Regions from separate parts of the Homo sapiens genome. Here regions 1, 2 and 3 are each linked to region 4. Evidence: promoter capture Hi-C in human tissues and cell types (Jung and others, 2019). All regions are on one chromosome and are shown on one strand. Each heading gives the region's core, a stretch centred on a gene start or on the middle of the fragment in contact. The rest is flanking DNA. Distances are from core to core; before and after follow the strand shown. Region 1 overlaps LDLRAD4 (low density lipoprotein receptor class A domain containing 4). Region 2 overlaps LDLRAD4 (low density lipoprotein receptor class A domain containing 4). Region 3 overlaps SPIRE1 (spire type actin nucleation factor 1). Region 4 holds the start of SEH1L (SEH1 like nucleoporin).

What was found. The method cuts DNA at HindIII sites, captures the fragments that hold promoters and counts their contacts. A contact is called where the count stands out against the background at its distance.
Region 1: a fragment that was not itself captured here is called in contact with the fragment with the promoter of SEH1L in region 4 in 1 of the 25 tissues and cell types used here (spleen).
Region 2: a fragment that was not itself captured here is called in contact with the fragment with the promoter of SEH1L in region 4 in 2 of the 25 tissues and cell types used here (aorta and dorsolateral prefrontal cortex).
Region 3: a contact is called between a fragment that was not itself captured here and the fragment with the promoter of SEH1L in region 4, in 2 of the 25 tissues and cell types used here (dorsolateral prefrontal cortex and hippocampus).

What each region holds. Positions count from the first base shown.
Region 1 is chr18:13,394,785-13,398,122 of GRCh38, reverse strand. The region is part of intron 3 of LDLRAD4 (low density lipoprotein receptor class A domain containing 4); the gene reads right to left. Among named protein-coding and RNA genes, the nearest start is that of LDLRAD4-AS1, 31 kb to the left of the region's middle. The HindIII fragment of the contact is 8,832 bases long and covers 1-3,338 here.
Region 2 is chr18:13,229,490-13,232,839 of GRCh38, reverse strand. The region is part of intron 1 of LDLRAD4 (low density lipoprotein receptor class A domain containing 4); the gene reads right to left. Among named protein-coding and RNA genes, the nearest start is that of C18orf15, 8.4 kb to the left of the region's middle. The HindIII fragment of the contact is 7,303 bases long and covers 1-3,350 here.
Region 3 is chr18:12,530,650-12,533,911 of GRCh38, reverse strand. The region is part of intron 4 of SPIRE1 (spire type actin nucleation factor 1); the gene reads left to right. LOC124904371 (small nucleolar RNA U13) reads left to right here and starts at 387; the gene lies at 387-488. The HindIII fragment of the contact is 3,667 bases long and covers 1-3,262 here.
Region 4 is chr18:12,946,079-12,949,524 of GRCh38, reverse strand. SEH1L (SEH1 like nucleoporin) reads right to left here and starts at 1,514. Exons shown (of 9, transcript NM_001013437.2): 1 at 1,293-1,514. The coding sequence starts at 1,403. RefSeq lists an enhancer at 334-935 and silencers at 867-966, 977-1,326, 1,367-1,816. The HindIII fragment of the contact is 16,054 bases long and covers 1-3,031 here.

The DNA.
Region 1 (3,338 bases), core at 814-3,313, 450 kb before region 4:
GGAGGATCTGAGACAGCCCCACTTTCAACCCTGACATGGTGGCCCCCACTGGCCACTGCGTCCTCAAGGAGGGTCTCTCGGGCCTGTGCAGATCCTGAGCCACAAACTCGGATCACGCCCACACCTCCTGGGGCTGTCTCAGGGAGCACACACGGCCACATATGCGAAAGCACCTGCCGTGGCAGACAATTAATCTTCACTCCTTATGTCAGCTCTGTGAAACAGCGTGCGCTGAGATCAAGATAGCATCCCTCCAAAAGGGCAGGGAAAACACCCTGAATTTTCTGCAATTTTATCACAAAAGAAAAAAATGAGTGTAGATGATAGACCAGCCTGGTTTTCTCCCCAACTCCCAGTACGAGGAGTGCTGCGCCGTGGTAGCACCGTGCTTTGTCGTCCTGGGGCAGGGCCTGCTGGGTCCCATGGCTTTTTCAGTGAGTGCCAAGGACATGGGTCCTGCTGCTCTAGGGCTCTACAGACAAGATAACAAGAGACAGGTGGTAGGATTCAGAAACACTGATCTCAGGATGATTTTCCTAAGAAGTCAGACAAACCCAGCAGGGAACAGTGGCTCATGCCTGCAATCCCAGTGCTTTGGGAGGCCACAGCAGGAGGATAACTTGAGGTCAGGAATACAAGATCAGCCTGGAAAACATAGTAAGACCCTATTGCTGCAAAAGGGCATTAAAGTTTTTAAAAATTAAAAACAAAAGTCAGTTTGGGAGGCCGAGGTGGGTGGATCACGAGGTCAGGAGATAGAGACCATCCTGGCTAACAGGGTGAAACTCTGTCTCTACTAAAAATACAAAAAATTAGGCAGGTGTGGTGGCGGGTGCCTGTAGTCCCAGCTACTTGGGAGGCTGAGGCAAGAGAATGGCATGAACCAGGCAGGCGGAGCTTGCAGTGAGCTGAGATCTCACCACTGCTCTCCAGCCTGGGCGACAGAGCGACAGAGAGAGACTCCGTCTAAAAAAAAACAAAAACAAAAAAATAAAAGTCAGGCAAACCCAACAGCAGCTGTGGCTGGTCTCTCCCTCAGGGTTGGCGGACCCAGCAAGCCTAGGACAGAACCCTCGTGTGAAATGGGCACACCCCCATCTCCTTAGGGAGTCTGGAGGCCTGTTGTCTACTTGGCAACTGGAATATAGCTTCTTTAAAGGAATTCTTTAAAATACAATATGGCATCTAGAAACATTTATTAATGTATTTTCTTCTGTACAATCTCTACAGCTGTACCGTCAGCCCTCTGTATCCACAGTTTCTACATTTGCAGATTCAACTAACTGCAGACTGAAAATATTGAGGCAAAAATACAAATAACAATAAAACAATAAAAAATAGGCCAGGCGCAGTGGCTCACACCTGTAATCCTAGCACTTTGGGAGGCCAAGGCAGGAGGATCGCTTGAGCCCAGGAGTTTGAGACCAACCTAGGCAACATGGCAAAACTCCGTCTCTACAAAAAATAAACAATTAGCCAGATGTGGTGGCATGTGCCTGTAGTCCAAGCTACTCAAGAGGCCAAGACGGGAGGATCACTTGAGCCCAGGAGGTTGAGACTGCAGTGAGCTACGATGGCGCCACTGCATTCCAGCCTGGGTGACACAGCAAGACCCTGTCTAAAAAATAAAAAACAATACAAATTTTTAAAATATAGTATAACAACTATTTACACAACATTTATATTGTATGTGGTATCATAAGTAATCTAGAGATGATGTAAAGTCTATGAGTGGATGTCTGTGTGTTCTAAGTATATGCACCATCATTTTATATCAGGGACTTGAGCATCCACAAAGGACAGCAAGGCTGATTGTGCTAACAGAGCACAGAATTACACGCCCAGCTAGGGCACCACGTTATTATTTTGTATTCTTTTTTTGCCCCTAGGAAATCTTGAACCAGGAGATGTCTTTCTCACACCACCCTGGAGTATTCTACAAATGCCAACATAAATTGAGAGGAAAAAGAGTCCATACTCCCATACGGACTATTATTGGTTAAAAAATTTTAACGGAACCATAAACCACTACCCAGACGTTACACTTGTTTATTTTTGCATCCCATTTCTGGGTTCCCCCATTTAAACATAGTATCCTGAAAAAACACAGAGACCCGGGACTTGACTTCTAGCCAAGTTTGAAGACCCTTGGCCTGTGACGACTCCATGAGACTCTGGAAGAGAGGCGATTATCAGCCCAGCACAGGCAGGTGGCAGGGCTGAAGTTCAGCTAAAAGCCCTATCAAACCGGATATAAGGAACCAGAGGGGATGTCTTGTGCTGGAGATTGATTCCCACGAGCAGAGGGCCCCGGGAGCTAAGCTAAAATCCTCAACCTCTGCAGCCCATGCCCCCACCCCCACGCCAGCTCCCCACCCCACGCCAACTTCCGCCCCCACGCCAGCTCCCGCCCCCACGCCAGCTCCCCACCCAACGCCAACTCCCGCCCCCACGCCAGCTCCTGCCCCCACGCCAGCTCCCCACCCAACGCCAACTCCCGCCCCCACGCCAACTCCCGCCCCCACGCCAACTCCCGCCCCCACGCCAGCTCCCGCTCCCACGCCAGCTCCTGCCCCCACAACAACTCCCGCCCCCCAACAGCTCCAACCCCAACAGCTCCCACCCCCACAACAGCTCCCACCCTGCCAGCCCCCACCCCCACGCCAGCCCCCACCTCCACACCTGCATGTGATGTCATCAGAGCTATGGCAGCTAACTGTGCAGATCGTGATGACACTCAGACTGTACACTCCTGGGACAGAAGTATGGCATGACAACTATTAAATATTTATTAAATGAACCCCTGATTTTTATGAGGCCTTTCTGTATAGTCAACTTCAAGAAGACTATGAAAGAAGACGGGGAAGAACATTTATCGAGCACCACTATAAGCCAGACTGTGTTTTGGTACTTTACAAATGTTATTTCACTTAATCTTTATACAGAACCTACTCACTGGCCATTATCTCTACCTCAGTGTGGTAAAGAGTGCACTTCAGAGAGGTCAGCTGATCTATCAGTGTCACAGAGCAGGAACTGGGGCGTGACCGGGGCAGGCTGCTCCTCCTGGAAGCAATGCCTTCCCCAGCCTCTGAGCTCATCTGCCAACAGAGAGCACAGGAGAATCCAGTATTAAGGACTCCAGAGACATCCATACACTAACAGAGGAAGAGGCTAGGACCCAAGAAACTACAAGAGGCCACGTATGGAAGCAGTCACCTGCTTTCTGCACATGTTTGATTTCTCCAGAGCTAAGTGGCTCCATTTCAGGGATAACTACAACATCCAAGTTTCAGATGTACAATGAACAAAAGCCCCCATTTTCCAAAGAACCTAAT
Region 2 (3,350 bases), core at 340-2,839, 280 kb before region 4:
ATCACAGCTGGCACGCGCCTCTCCCACACGCAGCTTCCAGGGAGCATGGCTGGAGGTGGCGCTTCCTGGGCTGCGGAGGAGAGAGCAGGAAGCTGCGAAGCCAGTGTGAACGGCGCACACGGCTTCCACTTGGAACGCAAGCAGGGGATCAGGGGACTTGGCAGCCACAGCGGAAGAGTCAGAGCTGCAGACAACAGTGAATAGCTGAGCTGGGGAAGGGATGCGGCAGCACGAGGTGACATAGAGGCTTGTGGAGCACAGCACGGGGCAGCAGCAGCCCCCGGACAAGGCCACGCAGGGAAGGAAGGCGATTTACACGGAGGCTTGTGGAGCACAGCACGGGGCAGCAGCAGCCCCCGGACAAGGCCACGCGGGGAAGGAAGGTGATTTTGTTGAAAGGGGAGAAACAGAACTGAAGTCAACTTGCATCCACAGCCGAACAAACTGTACCAGGACAGAAGCTCAAACCATGCCAGGCAAAAAGGGGCACAGGCCACAGACAGAGGCGGGAGGCGAGTGGGACAGGAGAGGGGCCACACTGGCAGATCCACCTCACTGCTGGCACCAGGCCAAGTCTCTGCACTGCTCAGGACCTGGGACATACTCCTAAGTCCCACAAGAGCGCCCAGAAGACGCTCCTCTAACAGGGAGGAGATGAGAGCAGGCCCCTGCGGTGGCCCCAGCCTGCACCGTACTCGCGCCACACTCCATCCTGCATGGCCCACCAGGAGAGAGCTTCACGGGGTGCCCCCTCAGTCCCCTTGATGTAACTATGTGTATCTTCGAATTCAGTTTTTAGTGCTATACCCTTGACCTCCCAAAATGACATCGACTAGGTGGGTGCCTGCCCAGCCACCAAGCTGCCATCCCTGGGACCAATGACCTTCAGAAAACAGCCTGCCATGTGGTTTGGACAACCATTGGGCATCACATTCCAATTAGGTTTCACACATTAAAATAACATAAACTCTGGCCTGAATTCCTCATTCAGCTAATAGCCACATTAGAGAAGAAGAAACAAATCCATTAATTATACTTCTATGTACATTTCATTGATTATTTGTTCCTTAAAGCCAAGGAACATGAAATTAGATGTTGTCTGTGAAAAGCTTTAAATAGTTACACGTTTTGCAAATAGAAGGCATTATTATTCCCATGCGAAAGTGATAAACCTGGCTTCCTGTCGTGAACTGAATGCAGTATGAAATGTAAGCGTTTTGTGAAATGTAAACAAATATCAACTATTAAAGCACTGTGGTCGAGACAGAGCTCCCCACTGCAAACAATTCGATATGAAATCAAGGTAGGTGTTCTAATGGGCTTGTTTTTCTTTACCATTCGTGGCTGGTTGATTTGGTTTTCGACAAAGATGGGAGGAAACGCTCCACACCAGAACCAGACTCACGCGATCTCGGGCAGGCCGCAATCAGGAGGAATGGTGACCCAAAGGGCAAGGGCCACCCGACATGCTCACCAAGAGCAGCGCCCCGTGCCCAGGTTCACTCCCGCTCCCAAAAGCCTCTGGCCTGTCTGCGTGCACCCACCTTTCACACGAGCCATGTGTCCACTGCCATTTCTTCTCAAGCAAAACCGGTCCAGACCCCTCTTGCCCTTCTCCCTCCCGCTTCCTCCCATACCACCTGCCTTTTGCCTCACCCATAGACATCTATACGCCTCTGAACTCGAAGACGATGCTGCCCGTGGCGCGCATTCCATGCAGGCAGGGAAAGAACCTTCACTCATCCCTGCAGCCCCGCAGCACCCTGGACATCAGGAATGAGCTTCACCAGATTACAAGTCTCCATTCTTATAAATGCATGTGGGCCCTAAAAGGGTCCCCCTGCGCCGAGCATGAATAAATAATCTCACCCTCCTAAGGAAGATTTCTCCACACAAATAAAGCAGTCCTATCAACATTTCTGATCACCAAACTGGTGTATTCAATCCCTCCCCGACCTGTGTCAGGATTCGCCCTGGAGGGTTCAGATAGCATGGACCAGAAAGAGGAGCCTAGGAGAGTCAGGGCGGCAAAGGAGCAAGATATGGTCTGTGGATTTTGAGTTCACAACAACTGAAAGCTACAAAAGTAATTTAGAGTTTGAGTTTGAAATTTCAGGCACTGTAAGCAGTAGCATCTACCCATGACACTCGCAGACACCCTCCCACCTCTTCCCCCACCTGCAGCCATGCATGGCCCGCCCTGCCCTCCCCCTGTCTTAACATATGTTCCCACTGCCCGCCTGTGGGCCCCCAATTTTCTGAAGCATATACTCCTACAAGCAAAAATGTCTAAGCACACAGGTCATGTATATTTATTTATAAATTATAAATTATATACATATACTATGGTAATAGTACATTGTACACATAATATACAAAGTTTGAAAAATGGAGTAAAAATAAGTATATGCGTTCTAATATTTTCTCGCTGCAACCCACTAGATTACTCTTTCCCTGTTTGTTCACCTTAAAAAAAAATCTGTTCTTTTGCTAAGTCTCAGCCCGAGGTCTATGTCTCAGTCCAGCCGTGCTGCTGTAACGAAATACCTTCAATGGGGTCATTTAGAAACAGCAAAAATGTGTTGCTCCTAGTTCTGGTGGATGGGACGTCCAAGATCAAGGTGCCGGCAGATCTGGTGTGTGGTGAGGGCCCATTCTTCATAGATGGCACCTTCTGTGAGTCCTCGAGTGGTGGAAGGGGTGAACAAGCTCCTCCGGCCTCTGTTATAAAGGCACTAATCCCACACATGAGGGAGAAGCCTCGTGACCTAATCCCCTCCTAGAAGCCCCATCGCTCAATACTATCAATACTATCACAGTGGAGTTATGTTTCAATTGAGGAGTTTCTGGGACACACAAACATTCACACAACAGCATTTGGCCTCCTCCATGAAGTCTCCCTTGATTGACCAAAGTACATTGAGCCCTCAGGAAGCCAGGAGACAGCAGGTCTACTCACATCTTCCTCTGTCTCCCTGGTATGGTTGTTAGCCCTGTGTGGCAACCGTGGGCACACCTGTCTTCCACCAGTTTGGCGACAAAGCCATGTCTTTATCTATGCCTAGTGCGTGGACGTCCTGAGTGCTCCATAAAAATGCACACAGGAGGAAAGAGTAGAAGGAGAGGGAAGGGAGGGAGCGAAGGAAGCGTCAGAGCCACCACCTCTGGGCCTGGGGGCCTCACTCTCCTCCACATCTAAAGCCTTTCTTGAAAAACTGCTTAGTTCAAGACGTGATTGTAAAACCACTCTCACTTGCTAATTGCTTCCACCACACATATTCTATCTTCTCCTTGGTCTCTATGTCTCCAAAAGGCGGGAACTGGGTCTCTGACTGTGCCAGTGCAGGGCA
Region 3 (3,262 bases), core at 524-3,023, 420 kb after region 4:
GAGCAGAACCAGAGGAAGTGGGATCTGATTAAAAGCTTCAAAGTGAACATCCAAAGGCACATCCTCAACTAGGTTTTCTCGAATAGTAGAAAAGATTACTTTTTAAGGCTGTCGTTACCTTTCCCAGCTTGTTAAAACTGAGATTGCCTTCCCCAGAGCATTATTTTTAGGGTGTACATGTATGAACCTGGCTACTTTATAAAGCACAGTGCCTGGTTCATCATCTATTTATTTAGAAAGCAAATTTGTTAATAGAGGAAATTAAATGAGCTCTTAAAGTCCTTCCAACACTGGCATTCTTAGAAACTATTTCTGAGCTTAAATAGAACAATATTAGTATTTTTACTACTCTACTGCAGTGAGCATTTAAAAAATGTTTGCTCTTGATCCTTTTGCAGTTCCTAAGCGTGATGATTGGATATTCACACTTGTGTGCGAGATGTTCCTTTTTCTAAACCTTGTTATGTCAGCACATTACTCATCTGATGTAAAAAAAAATTTTTTGCTCTTGATTAAAATTTTGCTTTGCAAGATATGCAAACACACTTTCAAAAAGAGGCTCAAACATTATTAAAGTTTATTTAAAGAAAAAGCTGACAGGTGGAGTAAAACTGCTGTGTGGCAGTGCCTGCAGAAACTGGCCAGGCTGACCGAGGTTGGGCCCTCACAACTGGTTGAAGCTCCAGCCACATCTCTCACTCTGTCACCACCCCAAGACTAGGACTTTATAGGCATTAGTTCCATCCTGTTTTCATATCTCCTTCTCCTCTGTTTCTACTCCGTTGATCTCCATCTCACCCTTTCCCAGTCTTCTCTGGAAACTGCACTCCATTTTGAAAAGAGTCCCCTCAGGCTCTTCTGACAACACTTGTTCCCCTAAGGGTAGTGCTTTCTCTTGCTTTCCTCCTGCGGGAAGCCGATCTCTCCTCTACATCTCCCTGTTTCGATTGAGGTGGGTTTGCTAATATTCTGTCTCTCCTCTGCTGCCTGCCAGTAATCAGCCTTCATCCTTGTTGAAACACCCTTCTTCCTTTGAAGCTCCTGTCATCACTTCTCTCATCTTGAGTGACTTCCTAGACAAAGAAAGCACATAAATTGCCTATCAACACTCAGGTTTCAGGAATGTAAGTTTCTTTCACCTCTGCAATGTATAAGGTTTTCTTGAAATGATAGAACATTTTTATACATGTTAGTTTATGTATGTAAATGGTTTCAGCCTTTTCTCAAAAATACTGTTTTCACACTAATAAATACTATTTGTTAATTTGACTTTTTTCGGAAGATCCCAAAATACTTAATATATTTTAAGAATCATTCTTTATACCTATGAGTTAGTGTGTACCAAGTGGAATTTTTGAAACAATAGACTGATTCAACGAAATTAAAAATTGAGTATCAACAATTTTTCAAACTACCTTATATCTGTGTATATGTGTGTGCATGAATGCATATAAATTGGGGTGGAAGCATAGTGTCAGAACACTTGAGCTCAGTTACTGATAATGTGTCTGATTTGATAGTCCAAAAGTACTTTAATTATACTAAATTTCTTATATGGCAAATTGGCAATTTATTAAAATATAAAATCTACCATCTGTTTTCCAATGTTATACTTGTTCTGTAAAGTGTTAAGTGCATTTACTGAACCTGGCTACTTTATAAAGCACAGTATCTGGTTCATCATCTATTTATTTAGAAAGCAAATTTGTTTATATTCTAATCCCTTTCATGATGTGATGATTTTCTTCTTAAACAACCAATGAACTCCTTTAAGGTCATTCTTTTAATGATAAAGATTTGGGTAGGCCTGCTGTTACTTTGTCTCTTAAGCAATGTGATATCCTTGAAAATAAGTACACATTACTGTGTCTCCTAAGAAATTTGATATCCTTGTAAGTTAAGTATAGCTGGAGGCACTGTCTAAGCAATCCATCGAGTGCATCAGGTTGTATGAAAGAAGAGCCACCCTGCCCTGCTGCCAGTGACACCACCATATTCCAGAGCCATACTGCAGGGGTAGCTGGTGAGCCTGTGCTGTGCAGAGGGGGCAGTTTCAATTGTAAAATTTTTTATTGGAGAAAATGAAATTATATTAATGGTAGTATCCTTTAATCTATTGTGGTCCAGGTAATTTTTTGATCATCAGTCCCCAGTTTTGTTATTGTTAAATAAAATTATTTATCATTACCTAAAACTTTAACCCCTGCTACTTTACTGTCATATTCATACAGCTCCTTTATAAAATGCCTTCTCTTCCTTACTCCATTTGATCCTTGTAACAATCCTGTGACTCTTTGCAAATTAGTAAACTGAGGCTTAGAGAGATTAGAGATTCACATAGAAGTAAGTTCTCAGTGCTGCTGATAACAGCATTTTCATCCTCATCATACCCTTCAGTCCGGCAAAGGTGTTCCACTACATAGAAGTTATTGCTATTTTCCTCTAAGAGTGTCACATAAAATGCATTATTAGATGAAACTAAAGAGAGAGTTCTGAAGAAAATGGAGGTAGATACTTTGATGTAGGTTTCTGAGCAGTTCTGGAGAGAGAATATGTGAGTCAGAAAGACTAAGATTTGGCTTTGGAGAGAAGAGAGTTTATGAGAGAATGTGTGGGCATGCACATGCTGGTGTTAGGGGATGATGGTCCTGCATATGCACATAAATGGGATGGGGGGGTACCATGTAAAGTTGAGGTATGAAATAAGAGGGAGGCCAGGCACAGTGGCTCATGCCTGTAATCACAGCACTCTGGGAGCCCAAGGCAGGAGGATCACTTGAAGCCAGGAGTTCAAGACCAGCCTGGCCAACAAGGCAAGACCCTATCTATAAAATAAACAAATAAATAAAGAGGGAGATGTGAAATGAGAAAAGATAGAGTATCATAGAAGTGTCAAAGACTGAGATAAAATAATTTTAAGACTAGAAAGTCAGTTGATTTTTTTCTGATACGTTCCTAGCATGCTCTAGCCATCATTGCCTCCACGTTGAGAGTGTGCAGTATGCTCACCAAATTCTCCAGTAATACACTGTTTCATAGTAGGGGTATAATGATATTATAGTAGAAACTTGATGTATCATAAGAGTACACTGTTTTAAAAGAATTTTTTGAAAGCTTTCTTTAAAGCAAATAACTCATTTTTTATTTATTTCATAATTTGAAATATTTATATTACCACTGACCTTTGTAAAAGCCCCTTTATTGGTGAATCATACCATTCATTATTCATGTAACTTCTTAAAATCAAATAGCATTTGCAAGA
Region 4 (3,446 bases), core at 265-2,764:
GCCAAGATTGCGCCACCCCACTCCAGCCTGGGTGACAGAGCAAGACTCCGTCTCAAAAAAAAAAAAAAAAAAAAAAAAAAAACGGTTAACGTAGTTTATTACAACAAAAATAAACTTGTTTTAAAAAAGAAACTACATCTTTTAAAAATTGCAACACTATTTATAAAAAGTTTATCTTTGAGAGATCACTGGTATCAAACTCGAATGTGAAAAAGGATAAACTATCCTTCAGATTTCCAGTTACTCTGGAGTTGTCGAGAACCAAATAATCCGCACTCCAGCTTTCATTCATCCTGCAACACATCTGGGAGGTTCCTAAATCTCATGTAGCATCCCCACATTAGAAATTCTGCTTGTAGGCCGGGCGCGGTGGCTCACGCCTGTAATCCCAGCACTTTGGGAGGCCGAGGCGCCGAGGCGGGTGGATCACGAGGTCAGGAGTTCGAGACCAGCCTGGCCCACATGGTGAAACTCTGTCTCTACTAAAAAATACAAAAAAAAAAAAAGATTAGCCGGGGGTGGTGGCGTGCACCTGTAATCCCTGCTACTTGGGAGGCTGGGGCAGGATAATCGCCTGAAAGCGGGAGGCGGACGTTGCAGTGAGCCGAGATCGTGCCATTGCACTCCAGCCTGGGTGACAGAGTGAGACTCGGTCTCAAAAAAAAAAAAAAAAAAAGAAAAGAAATTCTGCTTGTCGGAAGTGTCTACAGACGTTTACGGGAACTTCAAGAAACAAACCCTCCGATTCCTGGGCAGCAAGCAGGGAAATCATTGGATGTAAATGGTTTGTATTTTTCTTCCTCGGCGTAACAAAGTGAGCTTCTGCTCTGAACCCACGGAGAAAACCATGTGCCCTGGTGAGAGAACACCGGCGGGGCACAGAACTCGACGCAGCGCCAGCCAGGCAAAGTCTCCCACCAGGTCCCACTGCAGGTCGTCGGGTGAACAGCGCGGGCAAGACCCACGACGCCGAGGCTGACGGTGGGATGCCCCTGGGTTCCCGCCCGCAGCCCCGGCAGCGCGGCCTGGGAGAGGGCCCGGCGTACCCTGCGGGCGGGAGCGCGCACGTGGCACCAGCTGCGCAGGCGCACGGGAGGGCGGCCCGCGAGGCCGCCGTGACCCCACAATACGCGGGCGGGGAGGGCTTCCGCTCAGTCCAGCCAGGGCTCGCCCGCCACCCCACAGCTTCCAGCGGCGTCACTGAACCAAGACACAGCCCCGTTCCCCGCGCCGCCCACCCACTCCCCTTCCTTCCTTCCGGGGTCGGCCCCGCCCGCAAGCGCCGCGCGCACCTTAACGCTCTGATCGCTGGAGCAGGTTGCCATCCGCCGCCCGTGGAAGTCGAAAGAGACATCGTGGATGAGATCCTTGTGGTCCGCCGCGATGCTGCGAGCCACAAACATGGTTTCCGTCGGGCCCGCGCCTCCGAAGAGGACAGTGGCGGCGGCAGCGGCGGCGGCGCGTGGCCCGTAGCCTAGCCAGACCTCGCAGCCCGGGAGCGCACGGCTTGTGCTGCCCACGCCCCCGCACCGCCCCTGCCTATCAAGCCCCGCCCACACACCCTCCGGTCCTTCAAGCCCCGCCCCACCCACCGGCCCGTCAGGCCCCACACAGTCCCCTGGCCCCTCAAGCCCTGCCCACGCCCCGGCCCGTCATGACTCGCCCCACCTTCCGGTCCCTCAAGCCCCGCCCCGCCCCCAGGCCCGTCAAGCCCCGCCTACCCTCCCACCAGAGCCGTCATGCCTCGCCCCACCCTCCCGCCCCCTCAAGCCCCGCCCTGTTCCCGGCTCGTCAATCCTCGTCCCGCCCCCGGCCCGTCATGCCCTACGATCCTGGTGCGGGTTCCTCCAGGCTCTGACCGTTCGGCGGCGGAGGGTGCTCTGCAAAAGGCGAGTTACCTGTGCTGAGAAGTAGTAAGAGCTTATTGGTATACTGTGCAAATGAAGAAAGATGAAAAAGTGAAGACTGCCTCTCACGGTCCTCGGCCCTGAATCATTTAAGTCGACGTTTGGATGTGTTTCCCCCCAGACACATGCGAGGCGCGCGGAGCAGGTGGAGAAGACGAACCGTGGGTTTGGTCAGGAGCCGCGCTCCGTCGGGACGGCTGAAGAGCAGGGAGGGCCGGGGAGACGCCTGAGGGGATGACAAGCAGTCCAGGCTCGGCAGCCTAAGAGCGAAGGCTGGACGGGGAGGAAAGGATCAGAAGTAGTAGTTTAAATGTGTCAAGATTTTACAGGTAGAACAGGCCTGGGGGTGCTAGGAGCCACCACGGGGGTAGGGAAATAGTATGAATTAGAAGAGTCCGCCTGTAGAAACGTGTCATCCCGGGGGAAGGAAGCGGCCGGGGAAGTGGGCTGCTTGCTACCCGGGAGCCAGAGTCCTCCGGGGAAAAGGAAGTGAAGAGGGCCAGAGCCCCTGGGAAGAGGCCTGGCTCAGATCAAGGATTCTGCCAAAACCGGAAAGTGGAGGAGCCAACGACTCGGGGGGTTTTGCTTATCAGGAAAAGGCATTCTAGAGGGCGTAGTGGTAAAGTTAGGATGGGAGACAGTGGAAGCTTGCGTCAGGGGAGCGAAAGTACAGAAAAAAAAAAAATGAGGCTGCAGAAGGGACTTGCCCTTTGGATTTTGGCCAGGAATGACAAAAATGTGAGGTATGGTAAAATTAGCAGGCTGGAAAGTTTTTTAAATGATTAGTCCCAGCTGTCCCCTGATGGATTGCACAGAAACCTGCAAAGAGAAGTGGCGCAATGACCTGACCTTTTTCAACCATAAATAAGATTTTATTGCTACTTTAAGAGGTGGGCCCCACCTCTTATGATAACTGATAACAACTATAACTTTTTTGAAGGTCAAAGACACTCATTTCCAAAGAAAGTGCTCACTATAAAAGTCCAATCAAAATATATTGATTATTATAAAAATATCAAAACAGTTTAAAAATTGTTTTAATTAAATTTAAATACAGACAGTAAACAGATCATTGGTTGCCAGAGATTATCAGAGTGGGAGTGAAGTGTTGAATTAGGTGAAACAGTGGATTTTTTAAAATAGACTTTAGTTTTTAGAACACTTTCAGGTTCACAGCAAAATTGAGCAGAAAATAGAGTTCCCGTATGTACCCCTACTGTCACACATGCACAGCATCCTCCACTGTCAACATCCCATACCAAAGTGGTACCTTTGTTATGATCAGTGAACCTACATTGACACATCATTATCACCCAAAATTCAGAGTTTGCATTAGGGTTCACTCTTGGTGTTTTATTCTGTGGGTTTTGGCAAATATATAATGACATGGATCCACCATTATAGTATCACGCGGAATAGTTTGACTGCCCTGAAAATCCTTAGTGCTCCTGTTCATCCCTTTCTTCCGACAACACCTGGCAACCGCTGATCTTTCCACTGACTGCATGGTTTTGACTTTTCCAGAATGGCATATAATGG